Linked DNA regions of Homo sapiens: regions 2, 3, 4 and 5 are each linked to region 1. The links are contacts of gene promoters, found by promoter capture Hi-C in blood cells and fetal thymus (Javierre and others, 2016). All regions are on one chromosome and are shown on one strand. The core of a region is centred on a gene start or on the middle of the fragment in contact, and the rest is flanking DNA. Distances in the headings are between cores, read along the strand shown.

The links. The method cuts DNA at HindIII sites, captures the fragments that hold promoters and counts their contacts. A CHiCAGO score of 5 or more calls a contact.
Region 2: a contact is called between the fragment with the promoter of JADE1 here and the fragment with the promoter of REST in region 1, in 1 of 17 cell types (total B cells). The highest score is 5.5, in total B cells.
Region 3: the fragment with the promoter of ZCCHC4 here is called in contact with the fragment with the promoter of REST in region 1 in 1 of 17 cell types (total B cells); the score reaches 6.3 in total B cells.
Region 4: a contact is called between a fragment that was not itself captured here and the fragment with the promoter of REST in region 1, in 1 of 17 cell types (fetal thymus). The highest score is 14.0, in fetal thymus.
Region 5: a fragment that was not itself captured here is called in contact with the fragment with the promoter of REST in region 1 in 1 of 17 cell types (fetal thymus); the score reaches 7.9 in fetal thymus.

Annotation. Positions count from the first base shown.
Region 1 is chr4:56,906,407-56,909,261 of GRCh38, forward strand. REST (RE1 silencing transcription factor) reads left to right here and starts at 1,494. Exons shown (of 4, transcript NM_005612.5): 1 at 1,494-1,807. RefSeq lists enhancers at 951-1,880, 2,811-2,855 and silencers at 977-1,271, 1,371-1,760, 1,871-2,720. The HindIII fragment of the contact is 2,443 bases long and covers 1,039-2,855 here.
Region 2 is chr4:128,808,185-128,811,039 of GRCh38, forward strand. It overlaps JADE1 (jade family PHD finger 1), which reads left to right and starts at 1,516. Exons shown (of 11, transcript NM_199320.4): 1 at 1,516-1,693. RefSeq lists silencers at 1,339-1,818, 2,329-2,448 and an enhancer at 1,919-2,028. The HindIII fragment of the contact is 6,052 bases long and covers 732-2,855 here.
Region 3 is chr4:25,311,356-25,314,210 of GRCh38, forward strand. ZCCHC4 (zinc finger CCHC-type containing 4) reads left to right here and starts at 1,419. Exons shown (of 13, transcript NM_024936.3): 1 at 1,419-1,581; 2 at 2,691-2,809. The coding sequence starts at 1,455. RefSeq lists enhancers at 1,073-1,949, 1,478-1,537 and silencers at 1,198-1,267, 1,275-1,479. The HindIII fragment of the contact is 7,197 bases long and covers 1-2,855 here.
Region 4 is chr4:82,890,122-82,892,976 of GRCh38, forward strand. SEC31A (SEC31 homolog A, COPII component) reads right to left here and starts at 1,032. Exons shown (of 27, transcript NM_001077207.4): 1 at 967-1,032. The HindIII fragment of the contact is 1,056 bases long and covers 921-1,976 here.
Region 5 is chr4:82,375,422-82,378,276 of GRCh38, forward strand. The region is part of intron 1 of HNRNPD-DT (HNRNPD divergent transcript); the gene reads left to right. Among named protein-coding and RNA genes, the nearest start is that of HNRNPD-DT, 2.3 kb to the left of the region's middle. The HindIII fragment of the contact is 3,405 bases long and covers 1-2,855 here.

The sequences.
Region 1 (2,855 bases), core at 244-2,743:
TCATGGAGAGGTGTTACATTTGAAATTGCCTCATTGAAACTTTTGGTGGTCGAGCACCTTAGGGTCTTCATTTCATCTTGCATCGGAGACTGCATTAATTAGTAATATATTGTCCAGATAGAGGGAAACAGAGGTCCTACGTGGGTATACCAGGAAATGAAGAGTCTGGAAGCCCTGCCCTAAGAGAAACAAATAAAGGAACTTCAAAGAGAAGGAAGTGAGGTACCCTGAGGAGAAGCTGGGATGTCTTAACAACTGCTTTGGGATTTTGAGCTTGCCCTTTTCACTGTGTAGAGTGTTCCTTGCCCTACTTTCCACCTGTTGAAGTTTTCCTCATTCTCCAAGGTCAGACTGAATACATCTACTGTGAAAAGTTTCTAGAACCTCTTGGGATCCATCTTCCTACTGGCAAACCCCCATAGCACTTGCTACTTATGTTGTAATACCAAGCAATAGTCAGACTTATCTAGGTCAAGTTAAGTAGGGGCTTGAACGCCACACTAAGGGGTTTAAGCTTTAAGCTTGTAGTCATGGGGAGCCACTATGCTTCTGAGGACAGGTGTGACTTACGACTGACGTTTAGGAAGGTATCAAAGGCAGACTGAGAAGCTCTTTCAGGTGTGAAAGGGGGTGGAATTACTCTCTCTCTGTTCTTTTTTGTTGTTTTTGTTTTTGTTAGCACATGACTATGGGCTAGGCATTCCGCTTGGTTATCCCGCTTCATAGACGTGAGCCCGGTTACTCCGACACACCGTGGCCCCAGGCAGCCTCCCCGTCCTCACCACCTTTTCTTCTGTCATCTGAGGGTAATTCCTCCCCTGCAGTCGTGCTTTCCGGGCTCAGCAATGACCTGCTACCTGCCACGTCTAGGGATCTGTCCCCTCAGTCCTCACGCTCACGCTTTCTGAGTCCATAACCTCCTTCCTGAAACGTTTTCTTCTCACTTCTCCCAAACTGACTGCATTCCCCCTCCGGTAGTTTGAAATTTGGAAGACTTTTTTTTTTTTTTTTTTTTTTTACCGCAGACGCTTAAAACGAAGCTTAATTAGTCAAGGACAGCTATGGGTGGAGACTTGAAGAGATCTGAAGGGTATCTTGGAGCGCTTTAGACTTGAGAGGCCGGTGACAATAGCTCTAAAGAGACCCGTCAAAGCCTGCGGATTCTTCTTTTAACAGCTCTATTCTCATGCATGCACGCCAGGGCTGGGGGGAACTTTTGTTGTTTGTTTGTAATAGAAATCGAGAAAGGGAGTGGGGCCCGCCTCTTTTCTGACCTAAGGGCAGGAGTGAGGGGCCGGGAGGATTACGGGCGGCTCCCCCTAGACGCGCCCCCAGGCGAGCTGGAGACTGGGGCACTCCTTGCTTGGTAGAGGGGCGGGGCGCGCCTAGCGGCCACGCGCGCGGGCGTCGGAGGGGGCGTGTCTCGCGGGCGCGCGCGGGCGTCGGAGGGGGCGTGTCCCGCGGGCGGTGGCGGCGGCGGCGGCGCGGACTGGGTGCGCGGCGCAGCGTCCTGTGTTGGAATGTGCGGCTGCCGCGAGCTCGCGGCGCAGCAGCGGAGCGAGCGCCGCCGAGGCCCGGGGCCCCAGACCCTGGCGGCGGCTGCCGCAGCCGAGACGGCAGGGCGAGGCCCGGAGGCCTGAGCACCCTCTGCAGCCCCACTCCTGGGCCTTCTTGGTCCACGACGGCCCCAGCACCCAACTTTACCACCCTCCCCCACCTCTCCCCCGAAACTCCAGCAACAAAGAAAAGTAGTCGGAGAAGGAGCGGCGACTCAGGGTCGCCCGCCCCTCCTCACCGAGGAAGGCCGGTAAGTGGGGCGCTGGGCTGGGGGCTCGGTCAGGGTGGGGGAGGGCCGCCCGGGCGGCGGCAGTGGCGGGACGGGGAGGGCGCGGAAGGACGCGGAGTCAGGCGCTGTCCAGGGCTGATTTGCAGATACTGTGGCTCCGGCGGCGGCGGCCCCGCCGGGCGGGGGCTGGCGGCCGAGCAGGATCGGGTTACACAGCAGCCGCCCGGGGGCTGGGGGCGTTTGTTGGGAGCAGCGCGTCGCCTGGACCCCCTCCCCACTGGAGGCTGGGACGCCGCCTCCGCGCTGGCCCGGACGCTCCACCGAGTCAGGTCCTTTGAGGCCAAGGAGCGGAGCTGCTCGGGCCCGTAGTCCTGAAACTTCCTCTGCTTCCTCCTCCTGCCCCCGGGTCCCACCGCAGCCCCGCGCCGGCCCGCGGCCCTCCTGGCCCCCTCCCCCAGGGCCTCTCCCTGTCGCCGGAAGGCGCCGTTGAGTGCGGCCGGGCGGGTTGAGTCAGCCCCGGGGCCCGGGCGGTTCCGCCTGCGGGGCTGGACAGCGATTTCTGCGCTTCAGCCGTCCGGCGCCGCTGGCCCCCGCGTCCGGCCACCCGACCGCTGGAGCTGGCGGGGCTGGGGCGCGCGTCCTGCCGGGCGCCGTGGGGGAGTGAAGTTCGCAAACTTCCGGGGCGCGGGGGTGGCGGCTGGCCCGTGTGGGGGCCCCCTCCGGCGCTCGGAGCCCGACGCCTCGCGAGGGCGCCCGCGGAGCCTCCCCGGCCCTGGGCGTTGGGCGAGCCCCGGGGCGGTCGGAGGGGCCCGGGGGCGGTCGGAGAAGCCCGGACGCCGGCTGCGCGGTAACTTTCCGTCCTCTCCCGGGACGGGGGCCCTAGGGCTGGGGAGGGGGCTGCCTGGACTCGGGGAGGACTGGTTCCGGCCAAACAGCGCCTCGAGCTTGATCCCCTCCCCCGTTTTAGTGTTGGAGAGCGCAGGAAAAGGCTCAGGACGAGTGTCGGGGCGACTCCCGCGAGTTGGTGTGTAAATGTGTGCAGTGAGCGGGCCGAGGCGAGAGGAAGCGA
Region 2 (2,855 bases), core at 266-2,765, about 72 Mb after region 1:
TAAGTGAACACATGAATAGGACTGGCAGGGAGTCTTTCTACTCTTCATTAGCGAAACAGGAGAGGACATATACAGTACTTAGGATTTCCACTGGCTTACTTTGTTTTCTGAAAAATAACTGAAAGGCTCAATTAGTTTTGTTTTGTCGCATTTATCAGATTATAACGTTCTGGATGTGGGTCTGGATGTGGGTAGTTGGGCTGGTGTGGGATTACATGAAATCAAACCTGATATATTCAGAAAGATTCTTCCGGTGGACACATATGCCTTTTGGGTTCGATATTCAATTTTGTAATTAGTGATCACTGTTCCTATTTATTTATTTATTTATTTGAGACGGAGTTTCGCTCTTATTGCCCAGGCTGGACCACAATGGCGCATTATCGGCTCATCACAACCTCCACCTCCCGGGTTCAAGCGATTCTCCTGCCTCAGCCTCCCCAGTAGCTGGGGTTACAGGCATGTACCACCATGCCCGGCTAATTTTGTATTTTTTAGTAGAGACAGGGTTTATCCATGTTGGTCAGGCTGGTCTTGAACTCCCGACCTCAGGTGATCCGCCCACCTAGGCCTCCCAAAGTGCTGGGATTACAGGCGTGAGCCACCGCGCCCGGCCTGAATGGGAGTTTTTAATCCGTACTTTTTTCTTATTGAAGTTGAATGTCATATACCCCTCTATTTCCCTAGATGAATCCATGAAAGAAGTATGTTGCCCTCTATATGAAAAAGCAAGCTTGTCTTCTGCAGAAAATCAGTAACCACTCCTTTTTACACATAAATACCCCCAAATGAATCTCCGATGACTGATCTGATACTAGTCTGCAATTCTAGTTTTAGCATTAGGCTCACTCCTCATATTTGGGAGAAGATGTCCAATTCTGTAGTAATGTGTAACATAAAGTGGTGTCAATTTATAAATAATATCTTCTAATGAATTAATGCTCATTTGCAATGATCACTTCCATACAAATTTAGGTAAAGATGTTATTCAGAATTGGATTCTCTCTATTTAAAAATGTCATCCTAATGTGCAACTCCCTAAAACTGTTACTACAAACAACTATTTTGCCACTCAGCCTAAAAATAAAACCTTTCACCCAAATGACACATCTTAATAGCCATATTTTAATCTACGTAATTTTAAACTATTCTGAAAGAATCCATTTCTAGATGTCAGACAAGAGTTGAAACTGGGACAGCAGTTTGAAGGGGCTAATTTAAAAACCCACTTGCTTGGAGACACCTCAAGAATTTCTAGGCTCACAAGGTGGGTGAAGTAAGGAAAGAGACTAAGAGCTGAACAGTGCCGTTCTTTGCGAGCCCCCACTGGCGCAGGCTGAGCCGGCTGCGGCTAGGGCTGCGAAGAGTTAACGAGGGACCGAGCCCCAGCGCCGCGGGCTCCCCGCATGCTCCCTCCGCCCTCCCGTCCCCACCCTCTCGTTTTGGCAAGGGATTAAAGTGCTCCCCCCTGTGGCAGCAGTGACCCAGAAATGAGTTTGATTCACATAGTCCTTCCTCCATAACAAGCCAAACGCCAGACCGAGAGTGCCTCCGTGCGCGAGTGCCCGGTGTGTGCGCGCCGGCGAGAGCAGGGGCCCGCCCGGCTCCCCGCCCGCCGCGGCCCGAACTCATGCAGCTCCGAGCGAGCGAGCGGCGCCCAGCCCAGCGCCTCGGCCGAACCCCTCCGCAGCAGGTACGCGCGCGGGCCGCGGGGGGCGCGCGGGGTGGGCGCGCCGCGCGTGTGTCCGCGCGTGTCCGCGTGTGGGTCCGTGTGCGCGTCCCGGTCCCGCGGCGGCGACGGCGGCGGCGGCGGCGGCGGCTGCAGGACGAGCCGAGAGGCTCAGCCATATTTGATGGTTTTGTTGCTTTGCTCGGGAGTTCTCGGGAGTAATTTAATGCCGAAGGTCGCTGCCTAGTGGAAATAATATAATACGTCATTAATATGGCGCCAAAAGATTGGGTTCTCGATCTGTAGCGAGGAGGGAGGGAGGCAGCCGCTGAGCGCAGCGTTACTATCCCACCAGTAACTTGGGCATTGCCGGGGCGGGGGCCGGAGGAGGAGGAGAGGATGATTTTTGGATCCTGAGAATTGATCTATGTTGGATCAGTAAGTTTTATTATGATTTTTTTTTTCAAATTTGGGGGGCTGAAGACTTAGAGCTATTTCTTCTTTTGGATTTGCGAAGAACATGCGGTTTTCAGGTGAATCATCAATTAAACGCGTTTAGGAGCAGAAGCCCAGTTTAAGTTGGCTTTAGTTTATAGGTTTTTTTTTTTTTTTTTTTTTTTTAGAAAGCCAAAGTGCATTAGGCTGCATGAAAGTGGAAAGCATAGTAGCAACTTGGTAGACAGATGGCAATGGCAGAACGCAGGTTCGCGTACATATATGAATCCAGAGTGTGTGAGACCGTGTGTGTGGTGGGACTGTATTTGTCCAAACATAGGTGTGCGTAGGTACATCTGTGTGTGGTGGCCGCAGCCCTGGCTCTTGTCACCGCGTCACCACATGTCCAAAATATTCATTGCATCAATTCAAGGGCAGTGAGAGGGGGGTGGGGGTGGGGGTGGAGGGACAGTTTGGCAATTAGATTCTTCCGAACTGGGCTTCCAGTGATCAGATCTTTTACTTACAGCGCGACTGCTTGTAAAGTGTAAAACCCCTTAATCGATGAAATGGGGTAGGAGTTGGCGTTGGTAGAGCAAAGTACCGATTAATCGTGAACTTAAAGGGGATTGCAAATTGCAACCTTTGGCACCATCTGCAAATTGTGGGGGTGGGGTCTCTTGGTCTCCTTGCTTCCTTAAATGAACGTGTAGTGTGTACCCCGGGACTGCAAGTTGCAGAGCCCTTCAGT
Region 3 (2,855 bases), core at 169-2,668, about 32 Mb before region 1:
TTTTAGTTCCCTTGCCTTTCCATATAAATTTCAGAATATTGTCTAAATGTACAAAAAGAATCTGGCTGGGATTTTCATAGCAATTGTGCTACACCTGTATAAGCATTAAACCTGGGGAGAACTGATATCTTTACTATGTTGAGTCTTCTGATTTATGAATGCAGTATGTTTCTGCATTTGTTTATTCTTTGATTTTTTTTTTTTTTTTTTAAGACGGAGTCTCACTCTGTCACCCAGGCTGGAGTGCAGTGGCACAATCTCGGCTCACTGCAAGCTCCGCCTTCCGGGTTCACGCCATTCTCCTGCCTCAGCCTCCCGAGTAGCTGGGACTACAGGTGCCCGCCACCACGCCTGGCTAATTTTTTTGTTTTTGTATTTTTAGTATTTTTAGTAGAGACGGGGTTTCACGGTGTTAGCCAGGATGGTCTCGATCTCCTGACCTTGTGATCCACCTGCCTTGGCCTCCCAAAATTCTGGGATTATAGGCGTGAGCCACCGTGCCCGGCTATTCTTTGATTTTTAAAAAACTTTAAAAATTGCTTATTTATTTTAGAGATGTCGTCTCGCTTTGTTGCCCGGGCTGGTTTCGAACTCCTGGATTCAAGCAATCCTCCCTCCTTGGCCCCCCAAAGTGCTGGGATTACAGGTGTGAGCCACTGCACTCAGCCTTGATTTTTTTTAATCAAGCATTTTGGAGTTTTTAGCATACATAAAGCTCTGTACATATTTCGTTAGATTTACACCTATTTCATTTATTTGAGTGATTGTAAGTGGTATTCTATTTTTTAGTGTTCTTGTGATCATTGCTAGTATTTAGAAATCCAGTTGATGTTTGTGTGTTTATCTCATATCCTGCAACCTTGCTGAACTCAGTTTAAACCGGAGGTGTTTTCCTGATAGATTCTTTCGGATTTTTAAAATGTGGACAATCATGTCATCTGCAAATCAGGACGGTTTTCTTTCTTTCTTATGTATAAATGTCAATGAGTATGCAACTATGATGTGCAACTTTCAGCATTGTCCAAAAGTTACAGAGGATGATGCAGTGACTGTGACTTTGAAAAACAAAGAATGATCCTTAAATCACAGCTGCTGCAGCCATTTCAGCTATTTGGCAGAGGTGGTAATGCTGCCTTTTGGACCTACAATACAACCAAGTCTTTGTTCGAATCATCTCACTTCCTGGCTATATTCTTAAGAAAGGAGGGTGCTTCATGCGCTGAGCTCATGGCACAGGTCCCGCAAGTGACCTGCGAGCCCCACCGCTAGGGGCCGCTTAGGTGCAGCCCCCAGGTGGGCGGGGACTGCGTTTCGGGGCGTGGCCTCCGCCGCGGCAGCCCCCGCCCAAGCTCCTCCTAAGCGCCTGGGGGCGCTGTGGGTCGCTTTGGGTCGCGGGGGCGCTCTTTCTCAGCATTCTTGTTTCGTACTGAGGCTTTCGGGACGGCGGCGGGAAGATGGCGGCCTCCAGGAATGGGTTTGAAGCCGTGGAGGCAGAGGGCAGCGCAGGGTGCCGGGGAAGCTCGGGAATGGAGGTGGTGCTTCCTTTGGATCCTGCCGTCCCCGCCCCGCTGTGCCCTCACGGTGGGTCAGAGTCTGGGCTCAGCCTAACTGCCGGGCGCTGAGGGTGTGAGTTGGCTTGGAAGTGGCTTTTGGGGCTCCTGTATTTTTACCCGCCTCTTTCCCTCACCAGTGTGCTGCCTAGAAAATACTCCTTCCTCGGAACGCGGTGTTTTTCAACTTACTTGAGAAACATTCAGAGCAAGTCTCCACTCTTGTGGTTTTGGCTCCAGGACTATTTCATCTCTTTTGGGGGGAAGGGGCAGAAAAGTAGGCAAAGAGAAGAATGCATGGTATTGAATAGTTCTCGTTGACAAGTACTTGGGGATTTCATTTGTTGATTTGCTCTCCCTTCAAAAATAAAAAATTAGGGAGAAAAACAGTGTAATTCTTGCCTGCGAACTAGACTCAGTTTTTCTCTAACTTACAGAAAGTGGGCGTTTCCAGCTCAAAGCTCAGGTTTTCACTGCAAGGGTAACCGCGCAAGAGATGTCAAAGTCCTCAATTCTCTGAGTCCCTTCCTTGTTTTAGTCTCAGGTTTGTAATATTCACAACGTAGACAGCAACTGTACCGACAATAGCATTTTCTTTCTGAAGAGACCGGTTTTCAAAAATTATTTATAAGTAGTCACTGCCGGAATGTTGTAACAGAGAGAAAAGAAACATTCATTAAACACAGAGAAGCCGGCGTGGTGGCGTGCACCTGTAGTTCCAGCACTTGGGGGGCCGAGGCGGGCTGATCGCTTGAGCCCAGGAGTTTGAGACTAGCCCGGGCAAAAATGATGACACTCCGTCTACAAAAAAAGAAAAACAGCTGGGGACACGCAACTGTAGTCCCAGCTACTCGGGATGCTGAGGCGGGAGAATCGCTTGAGGCTAGGAAGCAGGATCTCAGTGAGCCATGATTGTGCCAGTGCGCTTCAGCCTGGGCGACAGAGGGAGACCCTGTCTCAAGAAAACAAAACAAAAAACCCTAACAAAACAAAAAACAACCAACCAAAGAGATGGATTTAATTATGATAAATTGTGCCTAAAGCTCAAACAAATTTTATTTAAGGGCAGCGAAAACTAAGAACTTGACGTAGATGACCATTACTTGACACTTTTTTTTTTTTTTTCTATTCTGGAACTAGGACCCACTCTTCTGTTTGTAAAGGTGACCCAAGGGAAAGAAGAAACTCGGAGGTTTTATGCCTGTTCAGCCTGTAGAGATAGAAAAGACTGTAATTTTTTTCAGTGGGAAGATGAAAAGGTATATCAACTTTTTGGATATTTATTTTTTATTTTTGGTATGTGTG
Region 4 (2,855 bases), core at 199-2,698, about 26 Mb after region 1:
GGAGGCTGAGACGGAGGTTGCAGTGAGCTGAGATCGCGCCACTGCACTCCAGCCTGGGTGACAGAGCGAGACTCCGTCTCAAAAAAAAAAAAAAAAAAAAAAAAGGAGAGTAAGCTTTTGCCAACTCTTGAATAAACGGAGGTACAGAAAACGCAGGACGCTGTAACAAGAACACACCCTTATCGATTAAATACAGTTATAACTGCCCACAAAGACAACCAAATTTCAGTTTTCTATAGTTAGAAAAAATAAGTTAGGAGAAAGGATTTGTCACAGACTATCAGATCACTGCAACTTCAAATAGCCCTACGTAAAATTAATTCCTTAAGCGCAAGAAAAAATTTATAATGCCCACAAGTCCAGGCAATATTTTGGTTTATTTTACAACAGCCCCGTAATTTAACAACTTATTAGCAAAAACATGTAACACTTAATGAGACTGCCCTCAAAGTACAGGCTGCGCCTGGCTACCACCGTCCTTAAAATAATCCTAGTTAAATGACAGTAGACGTCAGTTCAAACCTATGAACCTTTAAATCTGGCAATAGTTCAAGTACAAAAAAAAATCCTAACCAAAGCCAAAGTAATCCTGAGATTTTTTTTCCTCTCCTCACCCTCGGGGACCGCACCTCTTTGTGCACAAGGGTCTGAAAGTCTCCTAATCTCAAACTCCAGTTACCAGCCCGGCTACTACTCCCCGGCAAGACACTGTCGCCAGCCTCGGGTGGCTTTTGCTCAGCAGTGGAGACGTCGGCGAATGCGGACGGGCGCGATCACTGGAGTCCAGATGCCAGGCGTTGTTCCGCCGGGCCCGAAACCAAGACTAGGGGCGCGCCGTCACCAGAGACCGGGCCTCAGGCTGGTGCGGGGCAGCGGAGACCCAGGCTGCGGTCCCAGTTTTGGCCTGGGCTCTACCTCAAAGCTTAAGGACCGGCGAAGAGGACAAAAAGCAACGGGCGGACGCACCTGGCGAGGACCTTCGGCAGCCGGATCCTGCGTTAGTGCAGCGCTCGTCGGACTCTCCCAGCATTCGCCGCCGCCCCTCCTCCCCGGCCAGGGCCACCTCCACGTTCCGTTCCAACGTGGCAGCCGCAGCCGCAGCCACGCCCTGCGCCCAACACTTCCGGGAGCGACATCTTTCCCCGCCCACCCGACGCACAGCCCGCCACGGCACTTCCGGGACCGGCGGTAGCCTGGGAGGCGGGGTACGGCTCCGCTGGTTGGTGGCGCTCTGCGGTCATCGCGCCCCGGCGATCGTAGAAACCCTTTTCTGAGGGGCGGCGCGCAGAATGTGGATGGGGTAGCCAGGACTAGTGGGTAAAGGACTAGTGCAGAGGGTGTCCCCGTCTGGCCGAATAACCGCCGTGGCCCGCAGGAACGCCACGTAGCACTAGTCCTGTGAGGCGTCGGCAGCCCCTGGCGACACTGCCCGCGCCAAACCAGGTGGAAAATCGGGCTGCAAGGGCTTTATTGTAATTTGTGACTGAGTTCTTAAAATTACCCACTTGATTGCACATTCTGGCGTTTTGAGAACTTATACAAAGTGAAACAATCTGGGCATTCCCAAAGGCTATTGTGGACAAAGAGGTATAGATGGGGTGTTATATTAATTCCAATTAGTACCGTTTCATACTTGTTACTATCCCATGGTATTGAGACCCGGTAGCACTCACCTTCTGCCACTGTTTCTCCACAACCTCAAATCTAATTAGATGCGTTGCCTAAGTGTACTTTTAGTTTAGGGAGGAATTATTTTACAGCAAGGTGAAGCCAAAGGAAAATCACTTGCTAAATTACCAGAAATTGGATTCAACCCAGATCTCCTAACTTCTAGACAAGTTCTTTTCTCATTACATCTAGCATTCAAAGCCAACTCTTGCACTTTGGGTAGCTAAAGCAGAAGGATCCTGCCCCTTGAACAGCAGCAGTGTTAACATTCCCACAGTCAGCTACATCTTCTGTAACATTCCATCTGAAGCTTGCAGCTTCATAAGACAGCTTAACATCAATTCACGCCAACTTCTGAAATAATGAACCCAACTTTTACTGGTAGTAATATATTCTCTTTCAGTCTTCTAATTACCATTTTCTTTCAACGCAGTAACTAAGGTTATCACTTTGGCCTGAATGCTAGTCAAACTGATTGGGATTTGTTTTTGATTAGTCTTCAATTCAAACAAGTAAATGCTCCATTTCAACCGCAAGCAGCTTTCTGTTCCTAGTGCAATTAAAACTGAAAGACGTTGAAGCAACTTTACCTTTTTACATTTATCAGACTTTTTCAATAGGCTTGTATTACAGCTTCATGCAGGTCTGGGTCTCAACCTATCTTTGCTTTGCTGTCACCACTTTCAAATCTAATCACATCCAATTTCACTTCCAGCATTATCACTTTTCTTTGCTGCTCTGTCCTTTGTTGACCAATTACCTCTTTTAATTATCCATTTTTATAAATGGTCACAAGTTTAATCTCTGGGGTCAAGGAGGCAACAGTACTATGCACTTTGTGCTCTGCTATCTGTGCATGAACTAAACAGATGATCAGTAACAAATCAACAAACTTTGAAAGCAAAGTAATGTAACTGGCGACTGATCATGATGCACATCTTTTTTTTGGGGGGGGGGGCACAATGATTTGTGGACTAAAGAGCTAGCAGCAAAATTTATGCAAGTTTTCTCAGTACTGTGGTAATGGAATTATTAACCACATTGTTGGACTGGTTTTATTTAACTGTGGTCACTGGTATTTATGCATATTGGAACTGTGCAAAGACTGCCTGTATCTAAAAAAAGAAAAACTCTTTAGTTCACAAAACTAAATCCAATTTAGTTAACTACTATCCAAGCCTAATCCT
Region 5 (2,855 bases), core at 149-2,648, about 25 Mb after region 1:
CTGAGGCAGGAGAATCGCTTGAACCCGGGAGGTGGAGATTGCAGGGAGTCGAGATCATGCCACTTGCACTCCAGCCTGGGCGACAGAGCGAGACTCCGTCTCAAAAAAAAAAAAAAAAAAAAAGTTTAGGTATTTTCCACTGCAGTTAAACGAATTTGTATTAATTGGACACTATCCAAAAATCTCAAAGGAAGATTATAAGTAAGTTTTATTAATCAAGTTAGTAGAATTTACATTACAGAATAATTAAAACTCAAGAATACAGGTCAAATTCTGAAAACGTCCTAAAAATATAATCTTACCAAACTCCCGTAATAATCAAGTCACATAAAGGTAATACCAAGAATGTTTACCGTAAAGTGGTAGTGACTCCACATTTGTCTCCACCTGCCAGAATATTAGCAAAGGATAAAGTGGATATGGTGCTCAAACCATATATTCCGGGTTAGATACAACTAAGATGATTGACTGAAGGGAAGTCTGTTTAATCTTTTCTGGCTCAAGTGACGGTAATTGTCATTTATTTTGATCTTAAGATATCATTAGACATACCCACCTTTTGGTAATAGTGACTTTTCCAAAAGGTTCATTTTGATTTCACATGTAGCTTAGGAGCTTCTGGAATTCTTAGAATTTATGTCAAAAGTTCCAGACAACCTAGGAATGATTTTAAAGCTAACACCTTTACATGCTTTATGAGGATGTATGATGTCCATATCACTGATAGTCCTTGATATTATGGCCAAGATCTCTACATCCAGGATGTGCTCCTGCATCCACACAATATTCTTCTTGGAACTCACTTAACTTCTGGCAGGCGTGGTGGCTCACGCCTGTAATCCAGCACTTTGAGAGGCCAAGTCGGGAGGATTGCTTGCCTCAAGGAGTTGGCCATCAGCCTGGGCAACGGAGTGAGACCTTGCCTCTACAAAAAGTCAGAAAATTAACCTGGCATGGTGGTTCCTGTTGTTCCAGCTACTCCTGAGGCTGAAGTGGGAGGATCACTTGAACCTGGAAGGTGGAGGCTGCAGTGAGAAAGGCAGAGTGAGACCCTGTCTCAAAAACAAACAAATGTTACTATTTATGTGAAGTCTTCCCAGGCTTCCTGAGGCAGAATTAATGATCCCTTTTCACAGCCCTTTATCTTTACCTCTGTTATTCTTCATTGTTTTCTACTAGACCATGAGTTCTTAGAAAACAGTGTCTTCTATGTATCTCTCCCTCCCTAACACACTCTCACACACACATAAACACAGCAGCAGTATATCCACACTATGTAATTGCCAGTTGAATTATTGAATGACAAAATAATAAGTATGTCCAACTTGTTAGATTAAGGGGCTTTCAAGCAAACTAGGTGTTCTTCCAGGGACTTGAAAGTCTCCTCTCCACACCATCTCATTTCATCTCTGGCATTAAAAAAAAAAAAACTTTTGGCCAGGTGCTGTGGCTCATGCCTATAATCCCAACACTTTGGTAGGCCAAGGAGGGATGATTGCTTGAGCCCAGGAATTTTTTTTTTTTTTTTTTTTTTTTTGAGACAGAGTTTCACTCTGTTGCCCAGGCTGGAGGTGCAATGGCGCGATCTCGGCTCACTCCCGGGTTGACGCCATTCTCCTTCCTGTCTCCCAAGTAGCTGGGACAACAGGCACCTGCCACCACGCCCGGCTAATTTTTTTTGTATTTTTAGTAGAGACGGGGTTTCACTGTGCTAGTCAGGACGGTCTCGATCTCCTGACCTCGTGATCCGCCCGCCTCGGCCTCCCAAAGTGCTGGGATTACAGGTGTGAGCCACCGCGCCCGGCCAAGCCAGGAATTTGAGACCAGCCCCGGCAACATAGCAAAACCTATCTCTACAAAAAATTTAAAAAATCAGTTCCTGCCCACCCAGGGACGCCTTGGGTTGTGTTTAACCCGTTTCTGTTGCCGGGTGCGGTGGCTTACGCCTCTAATCCCAACACTTTGAGAGTCCGAGGTGGGTGGATCACTTGAGGCCGGGAGTTCGAGAGCAGCCTGGGCAATGTGGTGAAACCCCATCTCTACTGAAGATACAAAAATAAGCTGGGCGTGGTGGCGCACGCCTGTAATCCTGGCTACTGGGGAGGCTGAGGCAGGAAAATTACATGAACCCACAAGGCAGAGGTTGCAGTGAGTAGAGACTGCACCACTGTACTCAAGCTGGGTGACAGAGTGAAACTATGTCTCAAAAAAAAAAAAAATTAGCTGGGTGTGGTGGCGTGAGCCTGTGGTTCCAGCTACTCAGGAGGCTGAGGTGGGAAGATTGCTTGAATCAAAAATTCAAGGCTGCAGTGAGCAGTGATGCCACTTCATTCCAGTCTGGACGACAGAGCAAGAGCCTGTTTCAAAAACAACAACAACAACGAAACGCTTCTTCAAATGACCTGGTGATGGATGTATGAAATTTCTTGAGAATGAAATGAAACTTTTTGTTACACATTCATAGGTAACAATTAATTGTTTAAGTGGCTGGAGATGCTGTATTGGACTTGCCCCAAACAGTAGAAGGAAGGAATATCCCCTGTCAATGTACAGACATGAACTATTCCATTGCTTTAGGAGATTCCCAGTGTGTTTCAGATAACACACTAAAATGCTAGATCATCATTGAATTTAGCCTTTGTAAAGCAATTATTCTCTGCAGCAAAAACTAAAGTACTTGTAAAAGGCCAAAAATGAAGTCTGTTTGAGAATTAAACTGGAATCACTTTTACCTAGAACAAGATGCATACACCTAAGCCAAGGAAGTCAGTTTTCATCTGCTAGGTGCAGTCTGCAAATGCAGCAGGAGGTTCCCTTATGTTCAAATTTTTAAAGTATTAATAGGGTATGTATGC